2 separate regions of the Homo sapiens genome follow, and region 1 is linked to region 2. Evidence: promoter capture Hi-C in human tissues and cell types (Jung and others, 2019). All regions are on one chromosome and are shown on one strand. Each heading gives the region's core, a stretch centred on a gene start or on the middle of the fragment in contact. The rest is flanking DNA. Distances are from core to core; before and after follow the strand shown.

Region 1 (2,700 bases), core at 201-2,700, 300 kb after region 2:
ATCAGTGTATGGCCAATCTTGTGTCATTTATAACCTCACTTTTCTCCTCCCTTAAAGGCTTACTTTAAAGCAAATTCCACATAAAATTTCAGCTGTAAGTGCTTCTTTCAATATATATCTGTAAGAGATAAGGACTTTTGAAAACATATGACCACAAACATCATTATACCTAAAAAAGTTAAGAATTTTAATATTATCATATGTCTAGTTATTATTTAAATTTCCCTGATTATCTTATAATGTTTTTTCAGAGTTGATTTTTCAAATTAGGATCTAAAACAAGGTCTAAATATTGCATTTGTTTGTTTTAATCTAGAGCAGCACTATCCAAAAAAAGTACTGTGAGCCATGTATATAATTTAAAATTTTCTAGTAGCCACATTAAAAAAGTATTTTAAAAGATGAAATTAATGTTAATAATTATTAAGCCCAATATATCTAAAATTATTTTTAACATTAAATCAATAAATTATTGAGATATTTTACATTTTTTTCATAACAAGTCTTTGAGATTTGTTGTATATTTTACATGAAAGCATATCTTAATTTGTTCTACTCACATTTAAACACATCACTTACCATATGTGGCTAGTGGCTATCTCATTGCATGGTGCAAGACTAAAAGCTTCCTCTTCTTTTTTACAAATTTGCCATTTATTGAAGAAACCGGATCACTTGTCACATACATGTACCCACATTCTGGAATTTTGCTGATTGCACCCTATGATAGTATTCCTGTATTCTGGCCATTTCCTTTTTTGCTTTTTGTTGTTGTTGTTTGTTTTTGAGGTACAGGGACCACTGCAGTGGAGTCTTGCAGTGGGGCAGAGAGATTGGGCTCAACTCCCTATTCTGGCTTTTCCTATGAATTGGTAGATTTAGAAGATTGAACAGATCACTTGATAAGATTGAAGTTCTTTCTTTTTTGGCAAAAATACTTCATAATTGGATTTCATGTCCCCTACCCCTTAATTTTTTAAAGTGAGCCTCGAAAATGTTAAGTAATTCGCCCATGGTCACGTATCTAGAAACAGAGCTGGGATTTGCACCCAGGGGGTCTGGCTGCAAAATTTATGCTCTTAGTTACGATGCCGTCATGGAATAAAAATCTCCTATGGCTCAGTGTGTTACATCTCATGATGAGATTTATACTCAGGAGATATAAGAGTGGGATGATGCTAAGTAAACAGACTTTGTAGATCATTTATTAAAGTCCCTAGAATTACGCCTTACAAAATATGTGCTTGTAATAGCTGCTCTGTGTTGGATTTCTCCATCTTAAAATATAGAATCCTGAGGTATGGTTCCATATCTGTTTCCTTCTTACTGTGTTCTGCCCTAATCATGCCTTTTTTCCATTCTTCCTCCACCTTTCTTTATGTTCTTCACTATATTTTCGACTGGATGACATTTCTATTTTGCCTCTCTAGGACTGGTTCGTTGTAAACCCAACAACAACCAAAAGCTTTGAAAAGCTGATGAAGATAAAGCAGCGGCAGCAAGAAGAAGAAAAGCGGAGGCAGCAGCACAGGAGCAGAAGGTCTCTAAGAAGGCGGCAGCAGCCTGGCATTGAGCTTCCCGAGACAGAGCTGAGTCTTAGAGTAGGGAAGGATCAGAGGAGGAATAATGAGGAACTGGTAGTGTCAGCCTCCTGTAAGGAACCAGAGCAGGAGCCAGTGCCAGCACAGTTCCAGAAAGTAAAGCCCCCAAAGACTAATCATAAACGAGGAAGGAAATAGGCAGTCAGTGTAAAAGTGCTCCTAGGAAAGCAGATGTGATGCTGTTGTCACGGGGACCTGTGCTGGGAGGACTGAGTGAAGATTCTTTCAGCTGTTTGTGTAAGGCTGTGACTTTCTCAGCTCCTTCCTCCTGTGTAAATTTCACTGTCTTCCCTTCTTACATTTTGATTCCCCCCTCCCCTTTTAGTAGGTTTTCCTGCTATTCCTCGTCAAGTCCTCTTGTTTTTTTATCTTGCCCAAAGAGCTCCCTCTCAAGGCCAACTATAGGCTCCTCTTGCCCTGTACAAAACTAAGAAACCTCTTTGGTTGTCCTTTCCTTCCTGGGGTATAGAATGTTCTTGGAAGCTCCATTGATTTAGTAGCTGCTCCATCATCTAGCTTGTGAAACCATTCCAAACTAATTTTTTAAAACCATAACTGATTTGTCATTTTGTATTTGTGATATAACAAGTCTAGAAGTTAGAACTGTTGTCATTCACATAATAAGATTACTCTGTCTCCTTGGGAAAAAAACTTTATGGAGGCTGTTTGTCCTCTCAATATGGTTTTAAGATTGAAAGTAAGAAAACGGATTTAGGATGAAAACTCTAGAACTACCCTATGCTGTTTATACTGGGAAATGCTTTGTACCAAGTAGCAGTGACTAGACCCACAGACATGAAAAGCAACCTTAGGAGTAAAGTGACCCAAACATTAAAATGACAGGAAAGAGAAAGTAGAAGCAGCAATAAATACTGCCCCAACTTTCCTGGAGCCCGAGGCCTCATCCATAGCTATGATCACTTGCCCTCTGAAGCTTATTTTTGCTTCTTTGGTTTTAAGAATTGAGAAATATCACATTGCCCCTGATGTTTTGACAGTCTCCTAGTGCTCCTGGTAGTGCCACTAAGGGAAAACCAAGGTGCGCATTCCTTCTCCCTGGACTTTACCTTACTTGTTAGTCTACGCCCCACTGTTTCCA
Region 2 (2,700 bases), core at 168-2,667:
TGCAGGTAGGTCACTGCATTACCTCTGTGAGGTTAGTACTCAATCACTGCATTTGGAGTGACTGGTATCTGATCACTCCAAATGGATCAGGATGGAGTGATCAGATACCAATATACTAACCTTGGAGATACATATTTAGGCAGTAAATGATAACAAAAGCAAATGAACGATATAAACAAAACTCAGGAAATTTTGGGTGAATTACGGAGAGGCACTCAAGAGGTCTCAAAGCTGATTACTGACACAGGAGTGTTCAGTTTTAATGCCATTTAAACTGTACATACACATCTTAATCATTCTTTTGTATGTTTCACAATAAAAAATACCAAGAAAAACTGGGGTAAGAGTCTTGATTCAGCACTTATTAGGTGTGATCTAATGTGGACTCAAGTAACCCTCCTAGCTCACACACCTTTGTGGGGGCCCTATGCCATAACGTATATGAAAGTGCTTTGCATACGGTAAAATGTTTTCCAAGTTGAGGCCTCCTGGGGCAATGCCTTTATCCTTCAGGGCTGACTGTTCAGCTTTTTGAGGACTTTGAAATCCTAAAACCCTACTGCACAGCTTGGCCAACTACGCATACCCCTTAAAAACAGCCTTGGGGACCACCCTCCAAAACAGACTGGGGACAGTGTAGGATGAAAGACAGCCAACCCTTCAAGAGAGCCGAATAGAAACAGGAAGTGAGGGTGGTGCAGTGGGGCAAGCCTCTGGCTTCCAAATCAGTCTGCCCTGGTCCCACTCAAGTCCTAGAGGGACACTCACCAGCTGTCAGGACCTGTACTTTCCACGGGTGAGCGGCCAGGGCCCGCTGGTATGCCCGCCAGAGTGCCATGCTTCCTGTCAAGCCAAGAGGAGAGGGGGTCACCCCCACCGTCCCTCTCCACGACTAAGAAGCCGCCTGACATTCCCTTGTGCCCACTCCCTTCCCCTTCCCACTTCCAATGTGACTTAAAGGGGCAGAGGCCACATGAAGGATGCTTCCCAGACAGCTTCCTGTCGCAGGAGTCGCCTTAGACAATTGGGGAAGAGAGAAAGGCTGTGGGAAGCTATGGACTCCTGGTAGCAGCCACCAGCCACCCCAACCTCATTCCTGAAGCCAGACCACCTGGAAGCCTCCGTTCCCGACGGAGACACTCATGAGGACAGCTTTGCTCTGGCTTCTACCCAGAGCTTGGGTGCCTCAAAAGATAGCTTGGTCCGTCTCCAGATTCAGACTTGGTTGGAACCAGTTTGTAACCTTCCTGAGTCCAGCTCCAAACCGAAAATAGGGCCCGTCACTGCCCGGATATAGGATGACCACACACCTTGTGGGCACTCATGGCTTGCGACGCTTTAAGCCAGAGACCGCAGATCACCCGCCACTCACCTGAGCGCCGAGCCTCCCTCCCACGTGACAGGCTGGCCTAGGAACTTCCGCCACAAGTCCCGCCCCTTCCTCCCAGCGTCCTTCGGATTACGCAGCCAGGACAGGAATGGGGGTGGACCGAGCCATGAATACCCGTGGAGAGCGGCCTAACTCGGCCACCCACTCTGTGAGAGACCCCTTTTCCAGCTGGACTGTGCCGGACCCTGGTGTGGGGCCCGCCAGCCATATTTCTCACCTAAGTTCGACCCTCTGCCTCCTCCTGCCCCTTCTCTCCGCGCGAGACCCGGGCCTCTCTCAATCCGGTAGTCTCATTGTTCAGCCCACCCTCCCCGCATAACTGGCCATAACTACGATCCTTGTCTCAGCAATCGTAGTTAGGGAACTATAAGTTATAGTTAAGTGCGTGTTTTGTCTCTAGGTTCTTCACTGGCCTCAACTGTGAGCTCATGAGTGGGTAAAACTGGGGTCGTTCATATTTGTCGTCCTCATAGCAACTATTTCAGTGCTTTGCCGCAAACAGCCACTTAAGAAATACTGCGTATGTATGATTCTTCCACAGAAAGCATTGGAATTAGAACCTCAGAAGACATTAGGTATTGGCTCCCAAACTAACGGGCTGTGCAGCCTTGGTCATGACTAGACTTGATGTTAAGGCTCTGCATCTGTAAAATGAGGGAGGTTACACTATTGACTTTCCAAACTCGGCTCCTCAGTTCTAGGGATTTTTCAGATGTTTGTGTGTGGGGATGAGAGGGGCAGCATTACTACAGCTGCTTCTCCAACTTTTTTTTCCAAGTATATACTTCTCAAAAGACCCATTTTTAACGGGGCCCACAACTGCATGTTTGAAAACCAGTAAGCTAGGTGATTTCTTAATCCCCTTCCAGCTCTAACATTCTAAGAGTCTGTGAATATAGAGCAATATCCTTTCTAGAGCGTTGGAAATGTCTACAATATCCCTGGCAATGGACTTGTCAGGCTGGCAGGCTTTACTTATCTCCAGGGAGCCCACACGTCAGGAGGCACACTCTTTCAGGCTCTCCACCTGCCCAGCTCCACCCCCAATTTACTCAATTCCTTTATGATTAAGGCAGGGAGACTCCTGCCACAAATCCTGGAGAAACAGAGTAAGGAAGCAAGAGAAGTCAATGTCACAAACATTTAACTAAAATGCTATTTGCAAAACAGCATGCTAGAGGAGTGAACTGACAAAAGTAAATGTAATAGGAGACCAAATGTGGTAGGCTGTAAAGTTATATTCTGAAGTTAGACTGAGTTCAAATCCCCAGCACCACCACTTACTAGTTATATGACCTTGACCTTTTACA

What was found. Contacts are between HindIII fragments. The study calls those that stand out against the background at their distance.
Region 1: a fragment that was not itself captured here is called in contact with the fragment with the promoter of MPV17 in region 2 in 3 of the 25 tissues and cell types used here (adrenal gland, spleen and stomach).

What each region holds. Positions count from the first base shown.
Region 1 is chr2:27,619,723-27,622,422 of GRCh38, forward strand. ZNF512 (zinc finger protein 512) reads left to right here. Exons shown (of 14, transcript NM_032434.4): 14 at 1,431-2,700. The coding sequence ends at 1,739. Among named protein-coding and RNA genes, the nearest start is that of CCDC121, 7.9 kb to the right of the region's middle. The HindIII fragment of the contact is 6,428 bases long and covers 1-2,700 here.
Region 2 is chr2:27,321,680-27,324,379 of GRCh38, forward strand. It overlaps MPV17 (mitochondrial inner membrane protein MPV17), which reads right to left and starts at 1,418. Exons shown (of 8, transcript NM_002437.5): 1 at 1,373-1,418; 2 at 769-843. The coding sequence starts at 838. RefSeq lists enhancers at 813-862, 873-962, 973-1,022, 1,073-1,132, 1,255-2,227. The HindIII fragment of the contact is 20,851 bases long and covers 1,113-2,700 here.